2 separate regions of the Homo sapiens genome follow, and region 1 is linked to region 2. Evidence: promoter capture Hi-C in human tissues and cell types (Jung and others, 2019). All regions are on one chromosome and are shown on one strand. The core of a region is centred on a gene start or on the middle of the fragment in contact, and the rest is flanking DNA. Distances in the headings are between cores, read along the strand shown.

Region 1 (2,700 bases), core at 148-2,647, 36 kb before region 2:
CCAGTGCTTCCTGGACAGGGAGTGAGGCATAGGCTTTTCTCATAGGCTTAGCAGCCATCCCTGGTAGCTTGAAGTTTCCTTGTTTACTTTTCAAATGGTTCTGAGTACAAGTTTTCTTTGTTACTGTTTTTCCTCCTTTCATTCTATTCATTTAGTTCTTGTTTTATTGGGGCAATATTAATTGAGTTTCTAGATACTGCCAGATACTGATCTAGGAGCTCTCATAGAGTTGTTATAGCATTCTTGTTGAGGAATAGATGATAAACAGAGATGAGTATTAGATAGACATAGGCTATAAAATGACATACAAAGCTTTGTTATTTATATAAATGTTGATTTATGTGTCTTGTCTTGCTTAGTAAATTACATGCAATCTGATGTTTACATTCATAGCTAATTCATTTTATAATTCTATGAAAGATGGTAGAGGCTTAGTAAGCATATGTGAAAGAAAGTTTGGTTTTAGAGATGATGTGGTAGAGAATGACAGCAAGAAGACATAAACTTTAACAAATCGGTATTTACTGTTTGTCATGGAGATTCTGAGTTATATCTCACAATATATAAGTATAAAAATCAGTGAAACATGAGTATCAGTGGGTAGTTTCAGGTGAGAAACATGAAACTCTTTGCCATTATTTTTGGGATTTTTTAAGAATGTAATTTTCCATGTATAGGTGGAGATTTTAAAATAAACGGTAAACTACCTCATTTTTTCAGTTGACTTGGTAAAACTCCAAGAGGGTTATCTACCATAGTTATTTCTTTCCAGATTAAAGACAACCCTCCATTTAAATAGAAAGTTGATGGTAATTTTATCATTTCAGTGTTCTGTTCAGTCTGTATTTGTGGAAATGGAAATATAGCCTAGGGACCAGTTTCTAGGACTGGGTACTGATAATTTGCTAATAAGGAAAAGCATCTGCCTTAGAAAGCATTTCAATAACTTCTGTGTGTATTTTCTTGCAGTATTATCAGAAAATCCACCCAGCTTCACCATTACTGTGACGTCTGAGGCTGGAGAAAATGATGAAAGTAAGTCTTATAAAAAATACTTGTGGTTTTTCTAAATTTCTCAGGAATTTCACTCATTCTGTAGGCATTATGCTGGATATTGTCATGTGGAGGTGCTAAGGGGCTGTTACGAATCTGCTATGAATGTTGTATATTTCTAGTCAGAATTTACTGTGTGAACATGACTTCTAGGGAAATAGAGAGGAAATTAATGAAATATAGTCTGGCACAATAAGCTTAGTTTTTAAAAGTGAAATAGTAATATTAATAATACAGCAGATGAAAAAAGGTAGGAAACTTTTGTTTTGTTCAAAGCAATACTTCACGTGCAAACATATTTCAGTGGTTGTGTGGTTCCTTTGAGTGACTATTATTTTTTCATGGCTGTTTTTCTCTTTGAACATTTAGATTGTTCACTGGACATTTGGTGTTATAAATGGGGCTGGATATATGTCTGTCTGCATGTTTCTGTCTCTTTCTTTTGAAATAACGTAACTATAAAAACCAATAAATTAAAGTTAAATAAATTAAATTTGGAGATGTTTGGGGGAATGGTATCTGAAGTTTATTTCTACTTTTAGTCACGTTAGTTGATATGGTAATTTGATAAAAAGGTTATGTAAATTGGAACTAACAACCCTACACATTTTTTTACCCCCTTTGAAGCTAGTAAACCTAAATTCTGCCAGGAGCAGTCATTAATAGCCAACTTTTATGGTATTACTTGATAACTCCAAATCTGTCTAGTATACTTGAAAATGAGGTTTGCATTCACACATTATTGAAATCTGACTTAAAAGGATATTGAATACATTTATTTACTACCAAATTGATAACCAATATACTTTTGCAGATTGGTATCTAAAAATTTTTCTGTAATGCTTTAAAGCATGAAATAAATACTATACTGACTGTTCTTCAAACCATTTAAAATTTTCCTTTGTAAATAAGCCAGTGGCATGATTTGGGCTTCATATGATGCCATTATGGGTTCCAAAATGGTGTGGTGATGCTCATTGATAAATAATCCAAATAAAATTTTCTTTAAGATTACGCTGAAATGAAAAATAAAATATAAAAATTTCTTGTGAGAGCTCCCATATTCTGAATAATAGCTTTATTAGGAGCTAGTAATAGCTCTATGAAATAGGTGTACTCAGTGCATTATCCACCATACTTTCAAAATTATTTCTTTGAAACTAAATCCTGCATTGTACTTTTTTTTCCCCAAAAACTCCTTTTTAGTGAACAAACTAGTAGAAAAGTGGGCAAAGGGCATTGATATACAATTTCTAAAGGTAGTATTAAAAGAACGATCTCACAGGTAATTAAAAATGCAAGCTAAAATAATATATCCAGCAAATTATTAGTATTGGAAGATAGCATTATGCTGTTTGGAATATGAATCGAAACACATGTTCAGGAGAACTATTGGAATCATGAAGCAGGAGACTTTGAAAATGTTCATATTCTTTGATACAATGACTACTGTATTTATGGGTATCTATTCTAAGCACAGTATCATAATACAAAATAATACATGCAAGGATGTTTATAATGTCATTGTTTCTATCTTAACTAATAAACAGTGACATACTTATAAAGTGGAAGTATGGTTGTATTGAATAAAGACTTGGAAGTATTCTCATGTTATTTTTGAGATTTTATATTTATATATGAATATGT
Region 2 (2,877 bases), core at 225-2,724:
TACAGGCATGAGCCATCTTGCCTGGCCCTCTGGCTTGTCTTTCAAAGAAAAAACACAAAAGTGCTGGGATTACCTGGTGAAAAAAAGACAAACTGCTTGGATTACAGGTGTGAGCTACCACACCTGGCCCTCTGGCTTGTCTTTCAAAGAAAAAAAAAGCCTCCATTACAGCTTGCCAGCTGCAAGGGAGAAATTAAGGGGGAAAAAATGCTAACTTCCTCAACTCTTGCACCAATTACCAAAAAACCCCAGAATTTATTGTTCTAGTTTATCTTAATGTTCTGTTTTTAGAAATCCAAGCATTCTAAATCCCAGACATTTGACTTTAAAGAGTCTCTGTACCAGCAGAAGTTATATTCAACATTTTGTGTGTGTGCACACAGTTTTTATCAAATTATTTTAGTCTGTGATTCCCTCACCACACTGAATGGAGGAGTATTATGTTCTTCCATGAAGTTAGAATTTAGAGCAACATCTTGCTAAATAGAAGCTATATCAATGTAAACTGTCAAATGCCAAGTATTTGTTGGTATATTTAGAAAGAGAAAGAAATACAAAACAATTAACATTAAAGACTTTAATTAATATATGGTTTATAGTTAAGTCCAGATATGGTCCAATCTTCTATACCTTCTTCATATTGGAGACTGTATACTATAAATGAATAGTCATAATCTTGAACTTAAATCATTGCAAAATTATGCATTTACATTTACATTATCAAATAAAAATTATATTATGCCAATATAGTTTAGTGTTAATTTGAATTTCAATTATTAGAAAACGGGTAACCCATGAATTGCCTATTTATAGGTTTTCTGCATTGCCTTCTCAAGTATAATATTCTGCCTAATCACCAGGAGATTCCTTATAAGCAGGAAGAACAAAACTCAGGACTGCTTTGTCTATTCTCCGAGTCTTTAGAGTTGGTTGGTTGTAGCTGATGCACGCTAAATGTGAGGCTTGGGGTCTCCTGGTCAGCACACTGGGGTCCCATTGTTACCTGCACCTCCGAGATTACCAAGGTCAGTCTCTTCCTCCCTCTCTACCCCTCACTCTCCTCTCTCCCTCCCTCCCTTCCTTCCTCCGTTCTTTCCTTCCTTCCTTCTCTCTCTCTCTCACACACACACACCCTCCACACACACGCTTCATGAATACACTGTCCCTCCACTAACGCACGACTCGCTCCTCACAGCACAACTTGGATCAGTCTCAGACCCCTAAAGGTCTCTCGCATGGGGTCGCCATTCTTCCTACTTTGTGCTCAAGGCGCAGGATCTGGAGTTCTCGGTTTCCAAGCAAGACTGGTCGAGTCTAGGTCGGATTGGCTGCGATAGAACGAGGGGCAGGGGTTGTACCGAATCACAAAGCTAGGATTTTCATCTCTCTCTCTCGTTCTCTCTTAGTCTCCGCCCTCGAATCCTGGCAACAGGCGCGGTGAGTTTTTCTGAGAGGAACCCGGCCTGGGGTTGCTATGGAGATAGGACGCAGCAACTCACAGAGCAACCAGGACCCAGAAATCGCTTAAGAGACCGCGGCAAAGTAACTTAACTGAGTTGCCTTCTTCCATATTTTCACGCCCCTTTCATCCAGAACATTTTTTTTCTTGAACTGCTTCCATGGAGGACTCAACCTCCCCGAAGCAAGAAAAAGAAAACCAAGAAGAACTAGGGGAAACAAGGCGGCCATGGGAAGGAAAGACAGCAGCTTCTCCCCAATATTCTGAGCCTGAGTCGTCTGAGCCCTTGGAGGCGAAGCAGGGGCCAGAAACTGGACGCCAGTCCCGAAGCAGCCGTCCTTGGAGCCCGCAGTCTAGAGCCAAGACGCCTCTGGGTGGCCCCGCGGGACCAGAAACATCATCACCTGCTCCTGTCTCTCCGCGGGAGCCCTCTTCCTCTCCTTCTCCCCTGGCTCCGGCCAGACAAGACCTCGCGGCACCACCTCAGTCGGACAGGACCACGAGTGTGATTCCTGAAGCTGGGACACCTTATCCTGATCCTTTGGAACAATCATCTGATAAAAGAGAATCAACTCCTCATCACACAAGCCAGTCAGAAGGAAACACCTTTCAACAGTCTCAGCAACCCAAACCCCACCTGTGTGGACGAAGGGACGTGAGCTATAACAACGCTAAACAGAAAGAGCTGAGATTTGACGTTTTTCAGGAGGAAGACTCAAACAGTGACTATGATTTACAGCAGCCGGCGCCTGGGGGCTCTGAAGTGGCCCCCAGCATGCTTGAGATCACCATTCAGAATGCTAAGGCTTACCTGCTGAAGACTAGCAGCAATTCGGGCTTTAATCTGTAAGTCTCAGAGGGAAAAAAGATAAATGTTTGGCAAAGCAAGAGGGTGTGTGAGTATCTCTGTGTGAGAGTGTGTTTCTGTGGGTGAATCAAAATATATTTGAAAGATTGTGTTAGTAAAAGAGAGTTAATGACATAACTCTGGATCACATGACTCAAAACAGGTCATTAATGGAGATTCTTGTACCTTCTTTTTCTTAACCTTTTTTTTTTTTTGTCCTTTTCCTCCAGCTTCTTTAAAGACCCTAGGCACACAACAAAATAAAACTTAGGAATTATGGAATCTCGGGCTTGAAAAAGACCATAAAGACCATAAAGTCCAAGCATCTCTCCAGGATGCTTGTGAAAAATAATTGTCTACCAGTGAAAGCAATCACGTCTCTCATCTGTAGATGCTATTGCTTGCATGGCTTTTGAGTTCCCAACCCAGGCAGTGCTAGGGTGACCACCATCTCAGTTTGGCTGAGCGCTGAAAGTTCTTTATCCTAAGAAACCCCTTAGTCCTCGCAAACTCGGAGAATTGGTCACTATACAAGCTACCTGGAACACATGCCATTTTATCCAAGTCTCTT

Evidence for each region. Contacts are between HindIII fragments. The study calls those that stand out against the background at their distance.
Region 1: a fragment that was not itself captured here is called in contact with the fragment with the promoter of RSPH4A in region 2 in 1 of the 25 tissues and cell types used here (hippocampus).

Annotation. Positions count from the first base shown.
Region 1 is chr6:116,579,326-116,582,025 of GRCh38, forward strand. It overlaps RWDD1 (RWD domain containing 1), which reads left to right. Exons shown (of 7, transcript NM_015952.4): 2 at 970-1,035. Among named protein-coding and RNA genes, the nearest start is that of RWDD1, 9.2 kb to the left of the region's middle. The HindIII fragment of the contact is 4,443 bases long and covers 1-2,700 here.
Region 2 is chr6:116,615,005-116,617,881 of GRCh38, forward strand. RSPH4A (radial spoke head component 4A) reads left to right here and starts at 1,475. Exons shown (of 6, transcript NM_001010892.3): 1 at 1,475-2,305. The coding sequence starts at 1,620. RefSeq lists enhancers at 1,525-1,624, 1,675-1,794. The HindIII fragment of the contact is 9,568 bases long and covers 1-2,877 here.